Linked DNA regions of Homo sapiens: region 2 is linked to region 1. Evidence: promoter capture Hi-C in 16 types of primary human blood cells and fetal thymus (Javierre and others, 2016). All regions are on one chromosome and are shown on one strand. Each heading gives the region's core, a stretch centred on a gene start or on the middle of the fragment in contact. The rest is flanking DNA. Distances are from core to core; before and after follow the strand shown.

Region 1 (6,987 bases), core at 32-2,531:
GTTCCAGGGTCTGGTACCGCGAGTAGATCTGGCGGCCGCGCCTCCGGTCCGCTCCGTAGCCGACCCCTAAAGATCCGGGCACAAAACACACTAAAAGCAATCAGCAAAGCGTCCTCTGCAGACTGTTTCGCCTAGCAAAGTCCTGACCCTCCCAACCTGGCCAGCAGCTCACAGCCTCCTTAGGGCTCTAGCCTTCTCCCTTTTGCCTTGCCCCACCCCCACTGGGGGTACAGCGAGGACCCCAACTTCAGACCTCCTATAAGGTGGGACCTGTGTGTCCCAAAGAAAGGTGTGTGGTGGGGGGGGGGGCGGGGGGGCGGGGCAAAAGGCAAACAGAAAGCTGCAAGTCTAAAAGCAGATTTTTGAAAAATCCCAGATAATGGGGATGAGGGCCCCCTTTCTCAAGGACTGGGCTCCCCCATCTCCCCAAGCATCCTAGTTCCTTGGAAACTTCTCCCCACTTATCTGCCTCTCCTCTCCCCCTCCCTTCTCCTCAGACTGACTCCACTTTGGGGGGCTCCCCTATCTTCTGCTCCCTCCCCTCATCCCCTGCCCTGTTCCTGCCCCCTCAGCCCGCCTTGGGGCCCTCCAATCCGTCAGGGGCCAAGGGGGCCAGGCCCCTGCAAGCGAGCGAGAGGCGAGCTGAGGGGGCAGAAGAGGGGGCCCTGTCTCGGTGAGGAGACGAGCGTGATTGTTTTTATGGGGCCATAAAAAACTCTCTCCGCCCGTTCTTCTAGGGAAGCCGGTCATAAAGCCAGTTCAGTTTATTTAATTTATATCTCGGAGCTGTAAAACTCACCACTGTGCGAATTCATTCGCTGCATCCAGGGGTAAATCTGGATACTGGCTTTCTGGTCCTGGGGCGCAGTCCTGCCCTGCTCAGAACTAAAATCCTGAGCGATTGAGGTCTGTGTGTTATGTCCTAAGGTGTTTTGTCTGCAGTTTGAGAGCATGTCTTTCTCCTGGTAAAAGGAATTAGATCCATAGTCATACGGCCCCCGGCTGGAACTGAACACGACATTCTCCTGTGGCGAATAAAAGGGAGTCGAGTAGATCCGGTTCTGGGCAACGGCCGCTCCATAGGTCGAGAAATGCCTCACTGGATCATAGGCGGTGGAATTGAGGGCGACGTTGGGGAGGACGTCCTGGCCCCCGGCGAGGTGGCAGGATAAGGAAGGGTTAGTGAAGTAGGAATTCATCCCTTTGCCTTTACCTGGTCGGTCTATGATTTCTTTAATATTTATTTCTGTCTCCAGTTTGTACTCGGAACTAGATGGTTATAGGGACGGCTCCAATCCAGGACAGACAAAATGACAAAGTCAGCTGACCCCCTCCCAGCCAATCGCAAGCCAGATGTCAGGAAGGGGGAAAAAAATCGCTTCTGCTTCTGTTGATTCCCTAGTTGAGACTAAGTGTGTGCTTTGAAAGTAAGACTTGGATTTCTTTTAAAAAATATATATATATATATATATATGTAAGGGAACTGGTTTGGTGGTGAAGGAGGGGTGCATGTCCCTGAGCAGGGCCTTGGGACTCAGGGAAGGAGAGCTGTACTACCAGGAAATCTCTCAGCCCCAGCTAACTTTGCTGTGCTGTGGCCAGAGCCAGGGCTAGAGAAACCCCTGTATTTTCAATCTGGTTTCATGTTTTATATCTGCCCCCTTCTAAAATTACATCCTGATTTCTCCAAGGGAAGAACTCCCTCCCAGCACAGGAGGGGGGTCCCTAGAAATCCTGCAGGAAATCCTGTTTTGACACTCCATGGAGTGAGTCCCATCACTAAACTAGTATTTTTTTCACCAATAATTAAAAAAAAATCAAAAGTAGAAAGAAATTTCATAAAACCTGTTCCCCTGAGTAAGTAGAGTGTGGCTGAGAGTCTTGAATGTAGTAGGGATGTGGGGAACAACTAGGTCTAAAGGGGCAAGACTTCAGGGTACAGTGGCAGAGCTGGAGTGGGCAAATGGGCCACGCATCTGCTCTCCTTTGCCTCCTGGCTCCCTTCTGCCTCCTTCTCAGGACCCCTCTGTTGGGAAAACTCTTCCAGCATTTTTGCCTAAAAGGGAAAATGTATAAAAAATGCAATAGAAAAAGGAGAAAAAGAAGTAAAATGTAGGGAGGTGGCACCGGAGGGGGAAAGACAGAGAGAAAGAGAGAGAGAGGAAGAACGAAAACTCTGAGAATCTTTCTAGAGACATCAACTCCTGTTTATGTTGGTGAGAATTTATTATTTGGAGCCAGTGAGGGCCTGTGGGGTAATTCACATAGGATCCAGCCAGAAAGAGAAGGCTGGTGGGGCTCTGATGGACAGTTAGCTTCCTGCAGGCTCAAGCCCCTGCCTTGGTCAGAAGCCCCCCTGCCCCCTCCAGACTCAGGGCACCGCCAGTGGAGGCGCCCCTGGACCTGAGCTATGAGGCTTGGAGACTTCAGAAAGGGGTTCTAAGGAGCTCTCACCCAAGTGCCAGTCACCCGTGGTGGGGATGGGCCTCTCAGCAACCTCAACGCCCATTTTATTCCCCCATCTTGGGGCTAAAAAAAGGGAAGAGACGGTTACGAAAAGGCAGCTGAATCCGAGGCTTGTGAGGGAGCCGCAGTAGGCGAACTGAAACAGCGGAAAGTGTGCAGATGGGGGTTTTCTCCTGATTAGTCCAAACTTAATTTGATATCGTGATATAGGCTGAAAATGCCTTGAGTTGACAAAGAAGGGTGGTGGGGAGTGTGCGGGGAGCAGAGAAAGCTCATATCCCCCCCCCCCCACCATTTTTGGGTGGGTTGGGGGGGGGGAAAGCTGGCTATAACAAGAACCCGGATGTCGCCGGATTTTATGATCTTTTCCTTCTGTGTAACAAAGCGGAGTAATCAATGGGTAGCAATAAAGCCATAAACGGGACTATGCTGAGAAAAAACTCGTTTATTCATCTTCTGTAACGTTAAGGTTTCCCTGGAGTGTCGCTAGGGGGGAAAAATAAAGTTTCGAACCCAAAAGCAGACAGTGTGCAGGAGCTGGTGGAGACAACATGTTAGTTAATACATGAACCTCGTTAGGGGGTTGAAGAGTCTTCCTGCCAGACAATTTGTGTTGGTTTTAGAAAATACAGCCCCAATCCTCCAGAAAGGACAGAAATTTGTCGGTATTTGGAAGGGAAGGGGAAAGACTCCTATAATTATAAAGGTTCCTCCTTCTAGATCACACTTTCTTCTCCCCAAGGAAATGAAGGGGAAAGGGTAGAGGAGGATTTTTAAATTAAGAAAAAAAATTTTAGATGAGTTATCTCATTTTTGGGGTGACTTGGCAGGTACACAAACATAGACACCAATGTGAGTTGCTTTTTGCCCTAGAATCCAGCTGTCCTCGAATTCATGGCATGCCTGAGCAGAGGTTTCCAACAGCTGGCTGAGGCTTCAGGCCCCCTGGAGGGCAAGAGGTGGGGGAGAGACAACAAGGCAGGAGTACTCTGGGGACTGAGCTAGGGAACAAGTCAGTGCACCCCTGGACACAAGTAGCCTCTCTCAGAGTTCCCAGCCTCCTTTCTGCCCTAAGGGTAGTGGTGTAACAAGTAGAAGAGGCCGGAAGAGAGAGTAACTCTGTCCCCCCCTCCAATTTCAGAGAGAGATTGCTAGAGGGATAAATCATGTCAGTGATATTTCCTTCAAGATATTAAATTGTTGCAATGTACAACAAATTGAATGATGGAAGATAGGATGTCTTAATGAGGTTTCACTTTCAATGAGTGTTGATTTTCTATGTATTTAAAAATCTCTTTTATGTCTGGGTGGGGGAGGGAAGGACCTTGGAAGAAAGAAGGGGCTTCTGGGGCAGCATGGACTACAGCCCCCAGCAAGGATGCCTAGGTTTCCTTGAGCCCCTCCTCAACCATGTCTGGAGAGGAAAGGGGCCCCAAAGTTGGGGAGATTCTCTATTGGGGCCTAAAGTCGGTGGGCTCAGGGAGGTTGGCGACCTGAGAGGCAGAATGTGAGCCTCAGCCCCAGAAAGTTAAGTGTTTTATGACGTCCCTAAACAGAGGGCAGAGACTGAAAGGTCTCGCCGATTTATAATGAACAGAAACCAGCTGCTGGGTGAAAAAGGCAGAAATGCTGGAAGGGGGAGAGAAGGGGAAACAGAAATACAAATAAATTCCTCCACTGCTTAAAGACCTTTGGCAAAATTAATTTTCAACACCTCCCCCCCCCCCAATTACCTTTCATTCCTGAGGAAAGAAGAAGCCCTCTTCTTTCTCTTAGATCTTTAATTATGCAGCTGAAATTTGCTGAAAGGATTCGCTCCAAGGGGGGAGAGCAGGTCAGATGAGCCCGATCTTCCCTACATTGGATTATATTTTCTTTTTCCCATTTCATGTTAATTTTATTTTTTTGGCAAAAGAATGGCTGTCTATAGGGGGAAAGCTGGGACTTAGATTTTTCTAAATATATTTATATTTTCCTGTTAAATTTGTCTGAAAACAATTATGGAAACTCATCAGCAGAAGCAAGAACAGATGTTTTATTAAAACTGCAGTTGTGCTCTGTAAATATGCACAAGTCTTGGGAAGGAGGGGAGAGAACTTGTTCTTTGTTTCTATAAAACGAGCCTAAAGAAATCAGAGAACACTACCCCCCAACCCCATCAGGCTTGCAGGTCTCCTTGCTACTGCTCTGGCCCCTTAGCCTCCCAAATCAGGCATTCGGAAGGGGCTTGGTGTCAAGAGCAGATTTTCACTTTCAGAGAAGCTTTAATTAGTGGATTCAAAAACAGAATTCAAAAAACACAGAAAAAGAATACAAGGGAAAAATTGCCACTTGCTTCTCCAGTCCTCTCCAATGCAAAACACATGCTTTTGATAGCGCTAATTATAGGAGAGAAATTTACTGCCTGCGCCTTGGACCTGAGTGGGGTGCAGTCACTGGCCTGGAGTCCCCAAGGATAAGGGTGGCATTGCAGCCTGGGCACTTGGGGATTTCCCTAGGCAAGTTAAATGCTACCACTCCAGCCTTACTCCCCTTTAGGCCAGGGAAAGGCTGGGGGCATGTGAGCTCTGAACTGGGGAAAGGGTGGGTGGGACTGGACCCAGCCTGAAGAAGTTCGTGGGCAGGCCTCACCTTGCTGGCCTTTGCTTTCCACTCAGCTCTGGGAAATATATTAATTTCCTGGGGAGGGATATTTGAAGTGAGAGGGATGAGATCTGGAATTTTTATTTGGGGACAATATTTTCCAGAGGTCCTCCTTAGTTGTGTTCTCCCTGTCTCCTCTCTCTCCCCAGATCCCCTAACTCTGCGCGGATGTTTGTAACTCACCAACCCTCGCACACAGATACACATACTCCATTCCTGACTGCCGCGCTGCAACTACAGCTCGGTGCCTCCTGAGGCTGCTCGGGGACCCAAGCACTGGAGCCTCAGGACTCAGTGCTCAGCCTCAGCGCCTGGCCTGGGTGCTCAGCTGCCTGGACGCGACCGCAGCTGCCCGACCCTGCCCCCACCACCCCCAAGTCTCACTTTTCTGAGCAAGAGAAGAACGGTTGCCCCGCTGGCCCCTTTTGTGCCACTGGGCGAGGGCTAAAATCCCTCTTACGGAGAAAGCCGAGTTTCAGTAATTGCTCAGCTCCCCTCATAATCACACTATTTGGTTAAGGCTTTGCTGTTCTGGAGCGACTGCTCAGTTGGCCCGATTGGTCTATGATTAGACTTTTTTATTTAGAAATTAAAAAATAAATTCTACTCCAAATGCCTGGTGTTTTGTGTATAAATAAGCTCCTTTGATCTCCATGGAACTCCTAGTCAAAGGATCAGATCGCAAAGAGCCTCCTGGTCTGCCAGAGAACCTGAATGCAGGGAATGCTGTTTGGGAACACCAAAGCATGGCTCACCTAAGGGGCTTCCAGTTTCCCATAGATATGATGGGGGAAGCTGTCTGAGCACATACCTGCCCCCGCTACACACACCGCATTCCAAAAAGGTACACTCCTCCTTTCAAAGTTTAGGCATGGAGAGAAGTGAAATTTGACACACCTAACACAGAAATGGATATCATTTGGGGGTGCTAATATTTTGGGGACAGGGCCCGGGCTGACCAGTTGAAGGGAGCTGGGGATCAGCAGGGAGGGGGAAAGGAGGAAGAGGGCAGATTGGGCATGTTAAGCTGCTGAGAACTGCCCCCAAACACCTCCAAGGCCTGCGCTGGTGATTCCTCTTTTGAGCTAAGAGGTTGAGAGGCTACCCGAGCTGCTTTTGCTTTATTACAATTAAACGGAGAAGAAAGGTATATGGAAGGGCTCTGCTAACTCATGTCACATTTCCTCTCCTCCCTCTCTCTTTCCAGATTTCTGCCTGACCTTTCCTTACCAGCACTTCACTTATTGCTGCTACCATCAGCAGATACAAACTCTCACATTGGCATTTGTTTGGCTTCTCAATTCACTTCTCTGACTTAAGGTTAAAACGTAAAATAGGTCCCAAACATCTCTACCCCATCACGCTCAGCCCTGAGCCCCCTTCCAGCTCCATCTGGAAAAAATCATTTCTGGCTTTTTGGGGGCTGGTGCCCAAGCCTCCCACCTCTATTCCAAGCAGCTGAGTATTAGCTGAGGAGGGGGCTTGGGGAGAGCCTGGGGACACAGCTCTCTGTGATCTGGGAATGGGGAGAGAGCTTAGATGCCTAGGGACACTTGAGGGGGGCAAAGCAAGTGGCCCTGCTTGGCCCAGGAGAAAAATTAAAATGCAGAATATCCAGAATATTTTCAGCCCCCAGAATAGGGCCTCAAGAGGATGTCACATGAGGAAGAAGCCGCAATAGGGGGTGTGCTGCTCTGCACTGGGTCAAAGGATCCCCAGCCTCCTGGCTTCTTCTATACCCCTCCACATGAAGCACTGCTTGGACCCATTTGAGAGGTTCATGAGAATTATAAAATTCAAGAACTCGGTATTATGACATCACAGTGAGTTGTCATATAGAAATTGTAAATGTCCTACCAGTTATACATGGCAGGAGTT
Region 2 (6,967 bases), core at 1,186-3,685, 260 kb after region 1:
GGGTGTACATATATCAATTTGAGTCCCTGCTTTCATTTCTTTTGGATATATTCCCAGAGGTGGAATTTCTGGGTCATATGGTAATTCTAAGTTTACTTTTTTAGGAATCACCAATTTACTGTTTTCCACGGTGGCTGCACCATTTTACTTGCCAACCAGCAGTACACAAAGGTTCCAATTTCTCCACATTCTCGCCAACACTTGCTATTTTCTGTTTTTTTAATAATAGCCATCCTGATGGGTGTGGAATGGCACCTGACCATCTTGGGCTGGCACAGAGTGAGATAGGAAGAAGTAGTCGGGGATGAGGTCAGAGAGAAATCAGGAGGCCGGATCATTCATGGCGGGCCATAGAGTCACTGTGAGGACTTTGACTTTCACACTGGGTATCATGGAAACCCTAGATGAAGTGGCAGTTTTGCATATTGGCTACTGATTGTCATGTTCTTTGAACTAAGTATTTGGTTCTCAAACTATGGAACAGGCCTCCTCCAGAGTTTAAAAATACAGCATAGAAATGGGTTCTGCAGAGTTCTCCACAGACATCTCATGGTTCTGACAAAAAAGTGAGAGCTAAACAAGCTGAGGCCCTCTCCCACCAGCCTCCCTCTCCAGATGCCATATACCCACCCATGGAAGAGTAACATGATGGATTACTTTCATCCAGATTGTTCACTTCATGGATTATCTTTAGCCAGGATTCAATCACTTAAAAAAAATAATAATCTTCGTCTCATTCACTATTTTGGATTATCTCCTCCATTTTTCTTGGTAACCAAGAGCCGATATGGAGATGAAGGATACTTTTTCCCAGAAACTGGTGAAATTAAGGACTGCAAAGACAAAGGCAGGTAGATTCTCAGAAAAGGGGCAGGAGCAATGTGAATCAGGCACTCACCAGCCTTGCAAAATTAAATAGATGAATTCAGTCCCAAGCCCTGGATGCCTCAGCAAGGATTGTCAGAAATGTCTGAGATGATCAGAGCTAGGGAGAGAAAGGGCCCCAAAGGGAAGCCTGAAAACACATTTTTGAGAGGCAGAGAGTACCTCTCATAACCTCACTTCCCCCAGGCAACAGGGATGAAAGCTTCTACATCAAAATGAGAAGTCCAAGGAGTTATAGATTTTCTCAACAATAAATAATCTGGAGAGAATGGCCTCCCAACCACCGTTTATAAATGCTAGAAAATACACACTTGTGTGTGGTGAGGGCAGGGGGGTGGAAAGTGGAGAAAGAGAGAATTATGGAGTTGTCCCCTCTGGGAGAGGAGGAGGGCCAGAAATCAATTTTCACTGTGGCATTCTTAGGATTCAAATGGGGGCTAGGAGAGGGAAGTATGGTCAAATCTGGGAACCTAAATGACTAATTTTTCTCAGTAAGCAAACAGGCCAGGTACTCTAGGATTCTGTGTGTTATTTTTCCTTCCATCTGAGGACCACCTTGTTCATCCCCCTGTCTCTACACAGTATGAACACCACCACCACTCGCCCTGGGTAAACAGAAACTCCGTGGCTTCCCTCAGGCCATAGTCCCTCCCTCATATTCCCTTCTCGGTGGTCTCATTAAAGAAGTCTTGGGTTACCCTTTTCAGCCCAAAGATTTATAATAAAAATGAAACTAGGATTTAGGAGAAGGCTGCTCTTCTCTCTCTCTTCAGGTAGAAAAATAATGGACCTACATGGCAGTGAAAGTTTTAGGTCATTCATTCATTCATTCAATAAGTATTAAGCACCTACTATATGCCAGTCGCTGTGCTTGGTGCTAAGAACACAACAGGCAGGGGAAAGACATGTTCCCTGTCTACGTGGCACTGTCTTTAAAAATGTTCTTATCTAATCCAAAAGTGCCAGAAACGCCTAATCTGAATCTAATGATGAAAATAATCCGTCAAATTTAGACCCAGTGACTTTCTACAAAACAACTGACCAGTACTCTTCAAAACTGTGAATGCTATGAACAACAGGCTAAGGAATGATTCCAGATTAAAGGAGAATAAAGAGGCATGATAACAAAATACAGTGCATAAACTTCAATTGGATCAGGGCTAGGGAGAAACATTTCACTATAAAACAAATTATTCAGCTAGCGCAGTGGCTCACACCTGTAATCCTAGCACTTTGTGAGGCCAAGGAGGGCAGATCACTTGAGCCCAGGAGTCTGAGACCAGCCTAGGCAAGATGGTGAAACCCTGCCTCTATAAAAAAAAAAAAAAAATTAGTCTGGCATGGTGGCATGTGCCAGTAGTCCCAGTTGCTTGGGAGGCTGAGGCAGGAGGTTCACCAGAGCCCAGGAGGTAGAGGCTGCAGTGAGCTGTGATCATGCCACTTGCACTCCAGCCTGGGCAATAGAGTGACACCCTGTCTCAAAAAAAAATCAGTGGACAATTAGCAAAATTTGAATAGGCACTGCTTTACATATGTGTGTATATATACACACATATATATATATGAGAGAGAAGGGGAGAGCACACAAATGTGGCAAAATATTAGCAATTTGTCAATCTTGGTGAAAAATGAATGGGTATTAATTACACTATTTTACAACTTTTCTGTAGGTTAATATTTTTCAAATTAAAAGGTTGGGAGGAAAACAAGAATATTCCAACAGTAAAGGTTATGGATTTTTCTTCTCTGAATAATCTTATAAACAAACTTGCCATCATTTTTTTATTGGAAGGAAATCCTATCCAGATGATCTAGCCCTGAATCAAGAACTCTAGATCAGAGAGGTGGGTGGGAAGATAGAACTCCTTTGTCTCTGATTTACAACCAAAATTGTCAGCAAGTAAAAATGCCTGGAATGAAACCACAACCTTGACTCATGTTAGTATGGTTATAAAAAGTACATACTGTTATTGCCATTTTGTGGGACTAACACAAATTAATAAATCAGAGCTCTAGGCTTGAATGCTAAGAAGCATTGGGGAAGATGTGCAGAGGCTGGAGACAGAGCAAAATATCTGTCAAATGGCATGCCAGGGATAGAATTATGTGCAAGAATTAGAGTTACGTGGAAAGAGGGGTGAAAGGAACCAGAATGTGTTGAGCTGCAAGCAAGGTTCATATGCTATTTCATTTAACCCCTATTTACTCCATGACAGAAGTATTATTCTTTGATCTTGAAGATGAAGAGAGGTTAAATAACTTTTTCAAGATCATATAGCCAGTAAAAAGAAGAGTTAGAATTTGAACATGGTTCTTCATGAAGTCAAAGCCCATGTTCTTCCTACTGTGGCACCCAGTCTCCACAAAGAACAAGGAGTCTAAGGGCATGGCTATTAAAAGAGGATTTGAACCAGTTCTTACCCTTATGCCCAGGTCATCCCCTGCCAATGTCTTCTCTTTCCTCCCACATAGACACTGATAGGCCAGAGCTGGAAGCAGAGAAATCATTAAATCTGAAAGTTCCATCTTAACCATTTCCTGCTAAAATTCTAATCCAATCAGGTGCCAAAATTCTCCAGACAATCTTTTTAGATGCCAAGAAAGGAGATTCCAAAGCATCCCTGTAACTATTCCAATAGTTCATAGACACAATTTTACATCTAATTATAATTCCTACTCCCACAACTTTAACCCATTGGCTTTTGCTTGATTTTTAGTGGAAAATACAGGATAAAAGATCTCTAGATGCCAAACATAAGTAACCCCTCTGAGACTTCTTCCATCACACTGTTCTTTCATCATATTCCAAATCTTGTCTACTCACTACCTCATTCTTGAGAGGAAAAAAACCATCTTCAGTGCAGGTTAGGAAGTGCTAGAGAAGGAAATGAAAGCTTGATTTTCACTGGCCAAAGGAAAATGGGGTGGTGGGAAGGGAAGCGGGTATTTTTTTTTTATGGTAGCCCAATGGCAGGAAAATGGTTGCAATTTCCCTGACAATCTACATACCTCCAGATTTGGCCTTCCCAAACCTCAGCAGTCACCTAAGGATTCCAGATGCTACCAGCACACACCGTTAGGAAACATCTGTCACGAAGAACAGCCCCAACTGGGACAAAGGAGAGTAGGAAGGCAGACGGTGCCAGTTTAATGAGGATGGTTTAACAAAACATCTTTTAAGCTTTCTAATTCACTTGGCCATTTGCTCCCCAGACTTGGCTGCCAATCAGAAGCAGACTGTGGGGGGATGCTTGCCAGAGAATGGCAATCCCTGATCCTTAACTCAGGAGAACCCAGTACCAGAAAAATGTCAGCTTGTCAGTCATTCTAAAATATGATTAACCCCATTCCAGAGCTAACAATTCATGGTGATACTGGGGAGAAGGACTTGAGCTACGTGAGGTTGCTCGGTCTGGTTTGGTTGTTCTTGACAGCCAGAGGCCTTACTTAGCAGAATATCAAAAACAGGTATTAGTGTGCCCCATGTCCATGTCTAGCTCTGAGCTCATGACAACTAGAGCATTTCTAATATTTATTAATCATTCATGGAAATAATCATAAAGACCAATGGATATCCGGCATCAACACTGATCTCTTAGCCTTTCTATTTTTAGATTGCCTCGTTCTTTTTTAAGGTTATTAAAGAATATGAACTTGAGATAAGAAATAATGAGTTTTCTCAACATGCTATCAGTATAGGAAAATCCATGAAGAAGATAAATTACTTTTCCATTTCAGTTTCCAAGGGAAGAAAGCCCCAGATATGGCCAAAGACAAGGGGATTGGCAAAGCAGCCTCAAAGCATCCTTATTTTATTCGGGGGCGTTGCATGAAAATTTGGATTAAACCTAAGGAATCTCAGCTGAAATCACTGGTTTCAGATATATATTTTCCAAGGCCTGAATTCAACCTAGCTGACATGCCATTTTTCCCACCAGAACTCTATCTAGTAGATTCCTACAGTTGGCAAAGACTGCATCCCAGCCTCCTGCTATACTCCCTGATCCACCCTCCTGGCCTTTAACGTTGGTAACTCTAAACAATGAGATCCTCACAGATCTCACTCAGATTCACCCCAGCAACCATCAGAGAGTGCTGCCCTTCTTTTTTTTTTTTTTTTTTTTTTTGAGACGGAGTCTCGCTCTGTCGCCCAGGCCGGACTGCGGACTGCAGTGGCGCAATCTCGGCTCACTGCAAGCTCTGCTTCCCGGGTTCACGCCATTCTCCTGCCTCAGCCTCCCGAGTAGCTGGGACTACAGGCGCCCGCCACCGCGCCCGGCTAATTTTTTGTATTTTTAGTAGAGACGGGGTTTCACCTTGTTAGCCAGGATGGTCTCGATCTTCTGACCTCATGATCCACCCGCCTCGGCCTCCCAAAGTGCTGGGATTACAGGCGTGAGCCACCACGCCCGGCCGAGTGCTGCCCTTCTTTAAAGCAGGCTACAGCCCTAAATCACATTCACCATGATTGCTGCATTGCAGCAGATAACTGAAGTGTGAGTGCCCTCTACCCTCCTTCTGGAAAATGACACGTTCTTCAAGGATTGAAAGCAACACACACACACACACACACACACACACACACACACACCCTACACCTTCTCCCTACCAGACCTGCAGTTTTCTGCTCTCTGTTAAATCCAAACTTTTAAGATTGTATTTCCAGATCTTTCTTTTCATTGTTCCCCTAACCGTTACTCTTATTATTAACCTTTTCTGTGGCTCTTTGCTTGAACAGGACCAATCTTTCCCCATATACGAACATCTTGCTATCATCACCTCAACCATCACATGGACAGTCCCTCTCTGCCTAGAACACCCTTTTTCCAAACTGTTCAACAAGACTCTCCTTCAGGAAGCATATCTAACCACACCTACAGATATCTGACCTCTCTGCTATGCCCTCTTTGCCTGCTCTCGTCCCCTCATTACTGTCCAGAGTTCTGTCCATTTGCTCCTAACTTGTTTCCTTGCTGCACTGCCAGTGTCTGTGCCTTGATTATGTGTCCAGCCTTCTCCATCAGACTGACCTCCTCTGCTCCCCGTTCCTTTGGATTGGTTGGCAGTGAATATGGGTCTCTTGCACAGGAGGTTTTAGGACAGAATGGCATAACTCACTGGCCTAGAACTTTGCACTGGGAAGACGCCTGGTTAGAGAAGAGGGTAGCAGTGGTAGATGGTTAGGTGCAGCGAAGTAGCACAGCTCTTGCCTGATGACACTTTCAGCTTGCCTCTTCTTCCCCAGCTGAAGCCTGAGGTATAGAGTTAACTGGCCACAGCCAAGGAAGCACCCCATGATCTACAGCCCAATGTGGTGACAACAGAGATAATGAAACAAGAATGCAGGTCCAAGTCTCTTCCACACCACAAAGTGAAAATGCAAAGGAAGTAACCCAAACTGGCTGGGACTAAGGACGTTATCTGTGACACTATTGGCTCCAGTGTCATCCCCTTGAAGTCCAATGACCAAATTGACAAACAATACAGTTTTATTACTTTCATTGCTTTAGTTAATTGTGAAAATAAGTCACCTAATACTTTGGCTTTAGGCAACCTGGTGTGATACTCAAACTGCAATAAAGAAATCTCAGCTTAGACTGCAGAAAGGAGGGGTGCTCCAATGATCAAATGGTTGAATATTGTTTAGAATAGGACTTTCATTTGTTTTGGGAGGATGGGGAAGTGTCCATGAAGTACTTTTATATTGTAAGCTCCTAGGAAAGAGAATTTTCTCTGTTTACTACCATTTGTCCTGTACTGTCTATAAATAAGTTCACAGATGCATTCTGTTTAGTTTGGATTGGGTCTACAGTGAGAAATTGGATGACCTCTATATGGTTTGATGTTTCCCTCAAGTGAATACCACTGAAAGTTTCTAAGTGACAAAGGCTGGATTCAAACTACTGAAAATCAGATTTCAACTAAGTGTAAGTGAATACAAAGACAAATTCCAAATTAGAAAATTCAAGCACCAAAATGATTCCTTTTGCAAAGGAATTCGAGCAAAAGCAATGTCTTTTTTCCCTAAATTATTACCACCACAACGACCACCAAATCACCACACACTCACACACAATGCAAG

What was found. The method cuts DNA at HindIII sites, captures the fragments that hold promoters and counts their contacts. A CHiCAGO score of 5 or more calls a contact.
Region 2: a contact is called between a fragment that was not itself captured here and the fragment with the promoter of HOXC6 in region 1, in 2 of 17 cell types (M1 macrophages and M2 macrophages). The highest score is 5.7, in M1 macrophages.

Annotation. Positions count from the first base shown.
Region 1 is chr12:54,022,734-54,029,720 of GRCh38, reverse strand. It overlaps HOXC6 (homeobox C6), which reads right to left and starts at 1,281. Exons shown (of 2, transcript NM_004503.4): 1 at 800-1,281; 2 at 1-66. The coding sequence starts at 1,199. It also overlaps a transcript of HOXC4 not described here and a transcript of HOXC5 not described here. The HindIII fragment of the contact is 15,214 bases long and covers 1-4,730 here.
Region 2 is chr12:53,766,304-53,773,270 of GRCh38, reverse strand. The region is part of intron 1 of LOC105378250 (a long non-coding RNA gene); the gene reads right to left. Among named protein-coding and RNA genes, the nearest start is that of CISTR, 18 kb to the right of the region's middle. The HindIII fragment of the contact is 2,692 bases long and covers 1,090-3,781 here.